Linked DNA regions of Homo sapiens: region 1 is linked to region 2. The links are contacts of gene promoters, found by promoter capture Hi-C in human tissues and cell types (Jung and others, 2019). All regions are on one chromosome and are shown on one strand. Each heading gives the region's core, a stretch centred on a gene start or on the middle of the fragment in contact. The rest is flanking DNA. Distances are from core to core; before and after follow the strand shown. Region 1 has its middle 29 kb from the start of OS9. Region 2 holds the start of DCTN2 (dynactin subunit 2).

Region 1 (6,653 bases), core at 300-2,799, 120 kb after region 2:
AAAAGTGGGGGAAAGGAAAGAAAGGAGACAGAATCAGTTGTCCTCATGCTATCTTCGTCTTCACTGGGTCTTGTTTTGAAAGCTGAGTCTCCTCTTTATCAGAATAATGTTTTTTCCTTAAAAAATTTTTTTTTTTGAGACAGAGTCTCACTGGAGTGCAGTGGTGTGGTCCTGGCTCACTCCAACCTCCGCCTCCTGGGTTCAAGTGATTCTCCTGCCTCAGCCTCCCGAGTAGCTGAGGCTGCAGGCACCTGCCACCATGCATGGCTAATTTCTGTCTTTTTAGTACAGGCGGAGTTTCACCATGTTGGCCAGGCTGGTCTTGAACTCCTGACCTCAAATGATCCAAAGTGGTGGGCCTCCCCAAGGTGGTGGGATTACAGGCATGAGCCATGATGCCTGGCCTAAAAAATTTTCGAGTTATCATTTTGGCTAAATGAGTGACTTATGGTAATCTGAGAGTCTATTTTGTAACAGCCAATGTTTTAAACCTTTGGTATTTAACAAATCTTTCAAAATCAAGCTCTAGATTATCATGCTAAATCAGCCAACACTAAAATTGTTTAAATGTACAATTTGAATGAACTCCATGGTCTAAGTCAAATTACCTATGATAACCCATTAGTTATCAGTTCTATGCACCTAAATTGGAAAACAACTGGTATTCCAGAGGACATATGTTAAGCATGGTCTCACTAAGAACCAGGACAGCTGCCTTGTCCTTCCTGAATCCTTAAAGCTTTTGTTATTAAAGGTTTTTCATTCCATGACTGGTCATGGAAAAGATAAAATAATCCAAATTGAATATATTAATGTGGTGACTTATAAATTAAGGAAATAGTTTAAAACCAATGTTTGGTTCCATATTCCCAGGAAGACAATCAAAGCTTCAGGTACATTTGGCTACCTGATGGGCCATTTAAACATTTATAAAGGAATTTCACTCAATTGTCATTTTCAATGCATGTTTTCTGGTGTATAAAAGCTTTTCCATGCAAGAGGGCTGATCTTATAGCAGTAGATTATTATGCTACAGTGTATTTTAACCAGGTAAAGAAAGCTTTTTATGGTTCACTGAGGACAGTCCCTTCACAATCTAGAACCTGAAGATTGGATCTTCTGAGAACATCAGAGAAAGGCCGTCTTTGCCATCCACACTACAGAAAAACTTTGGAGCCTCGAACCTTGGGTTTATAATCTCACAACTGAGAAGGGTCCCTCCACACTCCTGCAACTGTACACCTGTTGGAACCCTTAAGGTAAAACTAATCAGGAAAGTTTCTCCCCAGAAGAAGATGGCATCCTTGATGTGAACAGCTTTTCCACAAGATCACGGATCAAAACTTCTACTATCATGAGACTCTTATATTTGAATTTTTTTTCTTGTTTATGCCTCTATGAACAATAGAAATGAAAAGGGGGTCTATTATGTGCTCTTACAGGGTATGCTTTTCTTTGTGAAGGATTTTGCAGCCAGCCTTATACATGAATAAACTTACACTTTAATAGATAAAAGATGAAGGCCCAATGTAGGTGAGAAACTTTAGTGATACATACATTGCCTCAAAATCAGTCAAAACTCCTCTTAACCCATATCATGGATTAAAGAGAACATTGACAGAAGGCCTTCACTCTTCTAGAAGGACATCATTTGTTCGGTCCTTTTTCCATGGTTTAGAATAAGAGAGGCAATAATTAGAAATGTCTCCCTCATAATAGGCTCTACAGCAAATTATACTTTAAAGGCTATTGTTACACAACAGACTTTAAATTCTCTTGTGAAAGTTATGCTAAATAATAGAATTGGCTAAACAGAAAAGTACCTGTGCAGCTGCTGATATTTGTGGCCTATGGAGAAATATATCAAATGTAAATTATAAAAATTCAGTTGTAGGGGATTAATGCAAAGACCACTTAGTTAAGTGAGTAGACTCTAGCTAGCTCATTCATTAATCTATTTAATTTTAGGTGGTTTGGTTTATGGGGACCCTGGGTAAGGAACATACACCAAACTCTTGGGGTATGGCCTCCCCATACTCATAGTAACAGTCTCCCTGGTGCACTGTATTCTCTCAAAGGTTTTAAATGTTTGCATGTAGCCATCTCTAGAACGCCAAATGGTCTCTCTTCAACTGGAATGACAAAAGTTGAAAGAGCCTTCCTTCCTTCCTTCCTTCCTTTCTTTCCTTCTTCCTTCCTTCCTTTCTTTCGACGGTCTCCCTCTGTTGCCGAGGCTGGACTGTACTGCCGTGATCTCGGCTCACTGCAACCTCCCTACATTGGGCTCCCGTGACTCTCCTGTCTCGGCCTACCGAGTGCCTGGGATTGCAGGCACATGCCGCCATGCCTGACTGGTTTTTGTATTTTTGGTGGAGATGGGGTTTCACTGTGTTGGCTGGGCTGGTCTCCAGCTCCTGACCGCGAGTGATCTGCCCACCTCGGCCTCCTGAGGTGCTGGGATTGCAGACGGAGTCTCACTCACTCAGTGCTCAATGTTGCCCAGGCTGGAGTGCAGTGGCGTGATCTTGGCTCGCTACAACCTCCACCTCCCAGCTGCCTGCCTTGGCCTCCCAAAGTGCTAAGATTACAGCCTCTGCCCGGCCGCCACCCCATCTAGGAAGTGAGGAGCATCTCTGCCTGGCCACCCATCGTCTGGGATGTGAGGAGCACCTCTGCCCGGCTGCCCCGTCTGGGATGTGAGGAGCGCCTCTTCCTGGCCGCCCTGTCTGGGAAGTGGGGAGCGCCTCTGCCTGGCTGCCCATCATCTGGGATGTGAGGAGCGCCTCTGCCTGGCCGCCACCCCGTCTAGGAAGTGAGGAGCGCCTCTGCCCGGCCACCTCGTCTGGGAAGTGAGGAGCGCCTCTGCCCAGCTGCCCTGTCTGGGAAGTGAGGAGTGCCTCTGCCCGGCTGCCCATCGTCTGGGAGGTGAGGAGCACTTCTGCCTGGCCGCCCCATCTAGGAAGTGAGGAGCACCTCTGCCCGGCCACCACCCCCTCTGGGAGGTGGGGAGCGCCTCTGCCTGGCCGCCGCCCCATCTGGGAAGTGAGGAGCGCCTCTGCCCGGCAACTGCCCCGTCTGGGAAGTGAGGATCATCTCTGCCTGGCCGCCCCATCTGGGAAGTGGGGAGTGCCTCTGCCTGGCCACCCCGTCTGGGAAGTGGGAAGTGCCTCTGCCCAGCCGCCCTGTCTGGGAAGTGGGGAGCACCTCTGCCCGGCTGCCCATCGTCTGGGATGTGAGGAGAGCCTCTGCCTGGCCACCACCCCGTCTAGGAAGTCAGGAGCACCTCTGCCCGCCCGCCTCATCTGGGAAGTGAGGAGCGCCTCTGCCCGGCCGCCCTGTCTGGGAAGTGAGGAGCGCCTCTGCCCGGCCACCCATTGTCTGGGAAGTGAGGAGCGCCTCTGCCCTGCCGCCCCATCTGGGATGTGAGGAGCGCCTCTGCCCAGCCACCCCGTCTGGGAAGTGAGGAGCGCCTCTGCCTGGCTGCTGTGCAATCTTCCAAGTGTGAAGTGACAGGCTTTCTGCAGGTGTACCCAACAGCTCCGAAGAGACAGTGACTATCGAGAACGGGCCATGATAATGATGGTGGTTTTGTTGAAAAGAAAAGGGGGAAATGTGGGGAAAAGAAAGAGAGATCAGATTGTTACTGTGTCTGTGTAGAAAGAAGTAGACATAGGAGACTCCATTTTGTTCTGTACTAAGAAAAATTCTTCTGCCTTGGGATTCTGTTGATCTATAACCTTACCCCCAACCCCGTGCTCTCTGAAACATATGCTGTGTCAACTCAGGGTTAAATGGATTAAGGTCGGTGCAAGATGTGCTTTGTTAAACAGATGCTTGAAGGCAGCATGCTCATTAAGAGTCATCACCACTCCCTATTCTCAAGTACCCAGGGACACAAACACCGCAGAAAGCCTCAGGGACCTCTGCCTAGGAAAACCAGAGACCTTTGTTCACGTGTTTATCTGCTGACCTTCTCTCCACTATTATCCTATGACCCTGCCACATCCCCCTCTCCGAGAAACACCCAAGAATGATCAATAAATACTAAAAAAAAAGAAAAAAAAGTAAAAAAAAGAAGAACAAAGCTATAGAAAAACAAAAAACAACAAGAACAAAAAGCTGAAAGAAATGTGCAACAATGAGGATACCATAACCTATGAATGACACACTGAGACCGGAAACCTAAAATGATGGTAACTGAGAATGGCGCTAAGGCCCTAAGTTTTGGTCACACTCTCACCTAAGTGAGAACCTGGCCAGAAAAGGGGAATTTTTTAAAACAAAATTATGGAAGGCCATTATTTTGGACAGAGCTCATGCACTAGGCCCTAACCAAATGAAACTAGAATGGAGTCACTTGTGCTAAATATGACACAATCAAACTAAGGCTTTAAGAAAACACATAGATCCTAGAACAGATCAGGTTTTGTTTTTCTCCTGTAAACAGATGTTCCAGCATAAGGAGATACCCTCTACTCAGTGCTTATTCTCTCCTTGCAAAACCCACTATTCTACTGTTTCCCAGTGGGTTTCAAAACCACATAAGTACATTTACAACAGTGACAGTAACATCAATGACTAAGGTTTTGGCCAATCTCTCAAAATTGAGAAAATGACCAAAATGGGAGAATTGTTAAAGCAAACTAAATATGGCCTGAGAAGGACTCTGTACTTCCATATTTGAGACCTTGTGGATGAACTGTAACTTAGCGTAATAGTCAGACAAAATTGAAAACCTAACTTAATAGTATGCACCCGTAACAATAGCTGAGTGCTGGCCAACCACTCATAGACTGCTGAGTGTTCAAACTAGTTCAAGTAAGGCAAAGGCAGAGCTGTAACCAATCTCACTGTTTCTGTACCTCACTTCCGATTCCTGTATGTCACTTTAACTTTTTTGTCTATAAATTTGTTCTGACCACGAGGCACCCCTGAAGTCTGTGAATCTGCTCTAATTCTGGGGGCTGCCTGATTTGCGAATACTTCATTGCTGAATTAAACTCCTTTAAATTTAATTCGGCTGAAGTTTTTCTTTTATCAGGGCAAAACCTGCCTCCCATTCTATTCAAAGTCACCCCTGCTCACTGAGATAAATGCACATCTGATTGCCTCCTTTGGAGAGGCTAATCAGAAACTCAAAAGAATACAACCATTTGTCTCTTATTTACCTATGACCTGGAAGCCCCTTCCCTGCTTTGAGTTGCCCAGCCTTTCCAGAGTGAACCAATGTTCATCTTACATATGTCTGATGTCTCATGTGTCCCTAAATGTATAAAACAAAACTGTGCTCTGACCACTTTGGGCACATGTCGTCAGGACCTCCTCAGGCTGTGCCACAGGCACACGTCCTCAACCTTGGCAAAATAAACTTTCTAAATTAACTGAGACCTGTCTCAGATTTTCAGGGTTCACACTTTTCACATTCCTATTATACAAGGCTGTATGTAACAGATGTCACTTTTTTACAAATTATATTTTACCTAATACATTTACAATTATAGGTTGTGTACATCTTTTTTTTTTTTTTTGAGACAGAGTTTTGCTCTTTTTGCCCAGGCTGGAGTGCAGTGGTGCGATCTCGGCTCACTGCAACCTCTGCCTCCTGGGTTCAAGCAATACTCCTGCCTCAGCATCCCAAGTAGCTGGGATTACAGGCACCTGCCACCATGCCTGGCTAATTTTTTGTATTTTCAGTAGAGACGGGGTTTCACCATGTTGACCAGGATGGTCTCAATCTCTTGACCTCGTGATCCTCCCGCCTCAGCCTCCCAAAGTGCTGGGATTACAGGTGTGACCCACCGCGCCTGGCCAGTTGTTTACATCTTAAGCACACAACAGGTGCTTATTAGTGATGAAGTGGTGTAAACAATACCTGCTTATTTTTGAGTGTGATGCAGCCTAGTGGACCTGTATATGTGTTTATAAGTTTAAGGTAACATGTTTACTTACAAACTGCTCCTCACCCCATCCAACACATCTCAGCAAATAATTCAGGATGATAGAATATATTACATTACTCTGAATTTATACATCATATCACCTTATAATTTATTAATTACACTTATTACAATATCCTTAAGATAAATTCCTAGCAGTGGGATTTTTAAATGAAAGGATTATATACATATTAAATTTGGATAGTTAGTCCCAAATTGTCCTCCAGAAAGGTTATACCAATTTACACTCTCGCCAAGTATTGCCACCATATTTTTAAGGTTGCCTAGTATTCTGTCATGTAGATGTACCATCATTAAAATGCTTTAATAGTGCCTGCCCAGGCCAAGCGCGGTGGCTCACACCTGTAATCCCAGCACTTTGGGAGGCCGAGGTGGGCGGATCATGAGGTCAGGAGTTCGAAACCAACCTGGCCAACATAGTGAAACCCAGTCTCAACTAAAAATACAAAAAATTAGCCGGGTGTGGTGGTAGACACCTGTAATCCCAGCTACTCAGGAGGCTGAAGCAGGAGAATCACTTGAACCTGGGAGGCGGAGGTTGCAGTGAGCCAAGATTGCGACATTTTACTCCAGCCGGGGTGACAGTGCTAGACTCCGTCTCAAAAAAAAAAAAGTGCCTGCTCTCCTTTTCTCTTCCTCTTCCTCTCCCTCTTCCTCTCCTTCTCCTTCTCTTCTCCTCCTTCTCCTTTTTGTCAT
Region 2 (6,285 bases), core at 1,662-4,161:
CATATAACCTACCTACACCCTCCTGTATACTTTGAATCATCTCTAGATTACTTAAAATACCTAGTACAATGTAAATGCTATGTAAATAGTTGTTATATTGTATTTTTAAATTTTGTTTTTTTTTTTATTGTTGTACTGGTTTTTTTTTTTTTGAGATGGAGTCTTGCTCTGTCACCCAGGCTGGGGTGCAGTGGCGCAATCTCGGCTCACTGCAACCTCCACCTCCCAGGTTCAAGCAATTCTCCTGCCTCAGCCTCCACAGTAGCTGGGACTATAAGCGCTCGCCACCACGCCTTGCTAATTTTTATATTTTTTAGTAGAGACGGGGTCTCAAACTCCTGGCCTCAAATGATCCACCTGCCTCAGCCTCCCAAAGTGCTGGGATTACAGGCATGAATCACCACACTGGGCCTATTTTTTATTTTTAAAAAATATTTTCCATTTGTGATTGGTTGAATCCATGGGTTTGGAACCCATAAATACAGAGAACCGATTGTATACACTCCTATTCTGTGAGGACAGAGGCAGCTTCCTATAAGATGCCTCTTGGAGTGACAGGTGCACACCCAGGTCCTTGAGCAACAACATCATCTGCATTATCTCCAAGATACTCAAGCTTAGGGGATAGATTGGCATGCCAGCAAATACAGAAGCCACAAGGAACACACCACTGGGAGAAGGGACAGAGAAGGTGTTTCCCACAATGTAAGAACCACTTCCACATGGGGGAGTCAAATAAGAAATAAGTGAGTACGCCAAGCCACACATTGTAAGCCAGCAGTCAGCATTCCCCAGAATTAACCAGCCCCACAGACATAGCCACAGGACTTACAGACAAGCATACTGAGCCTGCATATTGCAATGACTCTTGGACACATCTTTACTGAGAACTCACATCATCAATGTGATCCCAGCCCAGCTGTCTTCAGAAATAATAGAACCTAAAACACATCCTATAAACACACCTCTTGGCACTTAAACAGAGTTTTTACTATGTTGATTTCCATTCACTCAATTTTTTTTTCCTTCTATATGTTTCCTATATGTATCCTAATTCCCCATTAGTCTGGGGCTCATTGGGGGCAGAGACATTTCTTCCTCTGCATTGCACAAAAAAAACCACAGAATGAACACACTCAATAAACCATACTAAATGTTTCCCCTCACAGTTAAAATGTATCCGTACCTAATTACTCCATCCTCAGAATTCTCGGATCTAAAAATGCAACCACAGTCTCACATCCGCTGATGTGAAATATTTACATTCTTCCTCAAATTTGTTTTGCTCTAAAATCTTGGAATCACTTTCTTAATTCCTTGCCCAATGGATACTGGATATTCATATGGAAAAAGTATTTCTCCATATTTCAAAGTCTAGTTCTTGGTAGCAGTTTATTACAAGTGCCCAGGCTTCATGATTCATTTCCATGGGTTAGAACCCAGGGGCCTAAGTCACTAGCTCCAAACCTGTTTTGAGATATTTCAATTTTATTTAAAAGGCCCAAGAATCAGGGCTTTGCAAACAGATGTTGTTAGCTGTAATTCCGCTGACTTGACTCTCCCTCCTGCCATTGCTCATTGGTGGCTGCAAGCCCAGCAAGGTCTTTGCAAGCCCTGCAACCTATATACCACCCAGGCTGGGGTTGGCATACCCGCTTATTGCTGTAGCTCCCCCGAGAAAGGGAAGGACCTGTCTAGGGGAGAAAGGTCAGAGTCCGGAGGAGTCTGTGGCAGCACACATTCTTACCGCATCGAACTCCGCTTGATCATCCTCAGGTAGGTCGCTAGTTTCATAAACATCTGGCTCATTCCTGGCCTGCAGGTAGAAGCAGTGACCACCCAACCTCACTACCCAGCATCCAACAACACCCCTTCCCCCACTCCATTTGAATAAGCTAACAGAGAAGGCGGGGTGTGATGTCAGGGTTCTGTCCTTTCTCCTCCACCTGCCCCGTGAGTCAACAGTATGTCAGTTCCCATGTCTCAAGGGGTAGGGATGACAGCGGAAACAATTGGGACCTGACAGTAAACGGTGAGTGTAAGTGATAGCAACGATGTTACCCTAAATCTAGAGGCGGGCAGGTCCTTGGCAATCACTATTGCCAAAGAAGGTGAAGGCTATCCTCCAATTAGGCCCCGTACACCACCACCCTGGCACAAGGATTGAGAGTGACTCAGGACCTTAGTACTCAAGGTCCTGTGTCCCAACCCTCACCTTGAGAAGCAGGCAGGGCAGCACAAAAGGAAGGTACACGCCAGGATTGTCATGGGAGTGGGGGCTGGGGGAGGGCATAGGTTCCCTCAAGGATAGAGCTCCCCATCTGGCACAAGAGGGTTCTGCCAGATGGCAGAACCTCTTCCTTGGCAGGATGAAGGCCATCGTTAAGTGGTCTGGTGTGTGTGTCTGGGGTAGCGATGGGGTCTTATGGAGAGATTTGGGGGGGACATGGGAGGCGTTGACACGGATGGTGGAAAAACTCAGGCACAAGAGGTCAGTACCCGGAGTCGATTTCTGGGCCGAGCTACCGGCGACTGCCGGAAAGGGGGCCTGGTGCGCCGTCCGGCGGCCCGGCCCAGTCGGGTCAGAAGAGTTCGGGGGGTGCTGAGGCCGATCGGAGAACGAGCGGCGGGAGCCCTTGGGCGGAGGATGGGCTGCAGGCGGGAGGGGTCGCGGGCTGGTTTCTGCTGGGGGTCCTTGGGAGGTCGGGGGCGCGGTCCTGGGGAGCCGGGGCCGGTCCTGTACTCACAATGCCGGGAAGGTCGGCGTATTTAGGGTCCGCCATGGCGGCGGCGAGACGGGCTGGGGGACCCGGGCCTCGGTGGAGCCGGGGCCGGTGTTCGGGTAGGGGAGAGGCTGGGTTCGGGTCCCGGGCTAAGGCGGCGGCAAAGGGAGCGGCAGATGAGCAGGAAGTCTCGCGACAGCAGTAGCACAGCAGAAGGGTAAAGCAAAAGTCGCGAGAACAGCCCTGCTGCCACACCCCTGGAGAGGCCGGGATTGGGGAGAACGAGGCCAGGGAATGAGGTAATGGCCAGGGGACGCCGCCTAGGATTGTGGGATGTGTAGTTTTGGTGTACTGGAGCTTGGGCGGGGAGCGACAATAACGAACCTTGGGGAGCTATTTCATACAGCCTTTTCTCTCACTTTTACAGCAAGTCAGTGAAAGAACATTTATAATTCCTGTTTGGGGCTCCCAGGAATAAAATGACTAGATTAAATGATACAGGTAGTCATACTGTGACACAGCCGGGGTTTCAAAAACAAGAAGTTTGCTTGATACTGTGTATTATAAAAACAAAATAAAAACAAGAAGTAAAATTTAGTAAACGCGTAGTGTATGTTAGGAATGAAAAAGTTAGGCAATCTTCTCAAGTAAGGGCTTTCAGATAATTTGAATTTCAGATAATAAGTAGGTGTGTGTGTGTGGTGTGTGGTGTGTGGGTATACTAACCCCCCAAAAATTAAGTATCTGAAATTCACATTTAACTGGGCATCCTGTTTTTGTTTTTTGTTTTTCAAATCTGGCAATTCTATCTGAAGTTCATAAGTAGGTAAGTGGTGTCTCCATGTCTGTCTGAACACTCTCTGGGCTCTTAACTACTTCGTTAATAGTTCTCAGACTTTTATTTATTTTTCAATTTTTTCAATTTTGTGGGTACACAGTAGGTGTATGTATTTATGGGACACATGAGATATTTTGATACAGGCATGCAATGTGAAATAAGCACATCATGGAGAAGAGGGTATCCATCCTCTCAAGCATTTATCCTTTAAGTTACAAATAATCCAATTACTCTTTAAGTTATTTTAAAATGTACAGTTGAGTTATTCTTGACTATAGTCACCCTATTGTGCCATCAAATAGTAGGTCTTATTATACTTTCTAATTTTTTGTACCTATTCACCAACCTTACCTTCCGTTCTCAGACTTTTAAATTTCATCGTTCAATAAAATTAAAACAACTACAAACCTTGAAGATTTGCCTTTTTATTTTATCAAGTAAGTATATTACAAATAGAAAACCTATTATTTACTGTCACCATCATTACTTGGTAGAAAAGCAAGAAGGACACACTCAGAATAAAAGATAGTCCTTTGAAACTTATCAAATCCATCTTTATATTAAAAAAAAACTCACCATTGTTCTTTTGGAGGTGAGGGCATACTCAGTGAACTTTTGTCTCTGACCAGTGACCCTCCATGGACTGGCATTTTGAAACCCCTTTACTAAAGATGCCACCTTGGAGCCCCTGGGGACCCAAGGATGGGATGTTTCCCAGGATGTTTCCTGAGCTTGCAGGATGCTGCAACACTTAGAAATTGTGCCAAACCAAGTGACTAGAGAGTTCCTGAGTTCGGAACTCGTTGTCTTTCTTTCTCCTGGCTCCTCCCCAAGCCTCTATCCCTTTCTCCATAGTCCTACAGCTTTCCTGTCCCATTCCTTATGTTGGACTCTTTTCTTTCAGTTCCCTTAAGATTCAAGGTAGGTTAGAGGTGTAGCCCCAATGTGGGAAACCCCCTGAGTTCTGAATAGTTAGGTCTTGTCTGGCCAGGCTATCAGCCTCTTACTTTTGTCCCATAGTGTCTTAAGTGACCTTAACCACTCACCAGACAGTTGCTGAGCAGAACTTTCCTTTCCTCCTCCTTCTCCCATCCACCCTGCCCTTCCTCTTTGCCTAGAACCTCAACTCCTGCAGTCCAACTCTCTGTTGGCCAGCAGAGGCCTGTGACATGGAGAAAAATCAATTTGGCCAGCTTCTTGGTGGTTCTTTCCAGGGGCTGCAGCAGGAGTCTGACCCAAAGGAAGGAAGGACAAGGAATCTCTGGGCTTGGCATTTCTTTCGTTTTTCTTCCCCCACACCTTTTTTTTTTTGGCCAGGGAAGGGGGCTGAAGTATTGGGACTCTATCCTCCAATGGTTACTGAGACAGAAAACACACACTCCCGTAGGTATCTGAATTTGCCTGAAACCCAAATGCCGGCTTTGCCTCAGACTTCAAAGTCTCTCTGGCCTTACCCATCCCCATCATTGCCCCTCCTTCACTGCTTTCTGACTCCCTTTCTCTTGCAAAGATGTTTCCCACCCATCTTCCTCCCATCCTCAGCCTAGGACACAAAAATAAGTATTGTATCTGCTTTTGAATTCCCATAACCCAGAATGGGAGTTTATCTTCCCTGAAACTGGGGACCTGGTGTGTACGTTGGGGAGACAGTATAGTGCACCTTTGGATGTGGAAGGGGAAGGGAGTAGCCAGAACCTCCCACGACACCCAACTTCATAGGAGTACAGGCAGGGGTCCCCCCAGAAAGCTGAGTGGGTTGGGAGTCCAGCTTCCGTGCATGTGGGGCATGGGATGGGCGTAGGGGGAGAATGAGAAGTGTGATCCCAGTTTGGAGAGAGGACTGTGACGGGTTGGGGGATGCCCTGGAATAAAGGGAGAGGGAGATCTGTTGACCCTTTTCGCTACACAGGCGACAGGCCCACCTCAGTCCCCTTATCCCTTCCAGGGGGTGGAGTCTGAGGGAGGGACAAACAGGTCGGGGGTATAGGGGTGGGATGCAGTGAGTTGGGTGGGGAAGGGTCGAGGGCAAGGTTATCTCCGAACGTTAGGGGTGGGGGAGGGAGGAGAGGAGCGGTGAGGTTCCACCCTTCGGGGGTCGACGTCGAGCCAGCGTCCCCAGTGGAGGGAGCCCCGCCCCCGCTCCTCCATCGCGGCCCCGCCCAGGCCCGCAGCGCGGCGCTGCAGCGCGAGGGGCGGAGAGGCAGAGAGCCCGAAAGGACCAGACGCCCAGGTCGCCCGCATCCCGCTGCCGCAGGAGAGAGACAGCGCGCCCCGGCCCTGCTCCCCAGGCTTCGCCCGGGCGCCCTCAACTCTGTCCCCAGAGACTGAGCACCTGTCCTCCGCCTCGGCCTCTGCTGAGAGCCCTCTCCTCTGGAGCACACACCACCCCTGCAGCCCAAGAAGAGTCCCAGCCCCACGCCGGCTACCACCATGGCGGAGACCAACAACGAATGTAGCATCAAGGTGCTCTGCCGATTCCGGCCCCTGAACCAGGCTGAGATTCTGCGGGGAGACAAGTTCATCCCCATTTTCCAAGGGGACGACAGCGTCGTTATTGGGGTGAGTGTCGCCCAGGAGGGAATTCGGGGAGGGGGCAGGTGGCTGAATCTCCCCGCCCCCCGCAGAGCCTTAGTCTCTGCTGGTCCCTTTGCTCCCCCTCCCCGCCGCTCATCCTTCATCCTCTTCCCCGCAGCCCCTCCTCTCCCCTGCATCAGGATGGCTGGG

What was found. Contacts are between HindIII fragments. The study calls those that stand out against the background at their distance.
Region 1: a contact is called between a fragment that was not itself captured here and the fragment with the promoter of DCTN2 in region 2, in 2 of the 25 tissues and cell types used here (bladder and heart left ventricle).

What each region holds. Positions count from the first base shown.
Region 1 is chr12:57,662,285-57,668,937 of GRCh38, forward strand. No RefSeq gene overlaps it. Among named protein-coding and RNA genes, the nearest start is that of OS9, 29 kb to the right of the region's middle. The HindIII fragment of the contact is 6,741 bases long and covers 1-4,920 here.
Region 2 is chr12:57,544,281-57,550,565 of GRCh38, forward strand. DCTN2 (dynactin subunit 2) reads right to left here and starts at 2,912. Exons shown (of 14, transcript NM_001261413.2): 1 at 2,748-2,912; 2 at 1,748-1,816. The coding sequence starts at 2,783. It overlaps KIF5A (kinesin family member 5A), which reads left to right and starts at 5,764. Exons shown (of 29, transcript NM_004984.4): 1 at 5,764-6,120. The coding sequence starts at 5,992. RefSeq lists enhancers at 3,041-3,180, 6,099-6,285 and a silencer at 5,491-5,830. The HindIII fragment of the contact is 16,785 bases long and covers 1-6,285 here.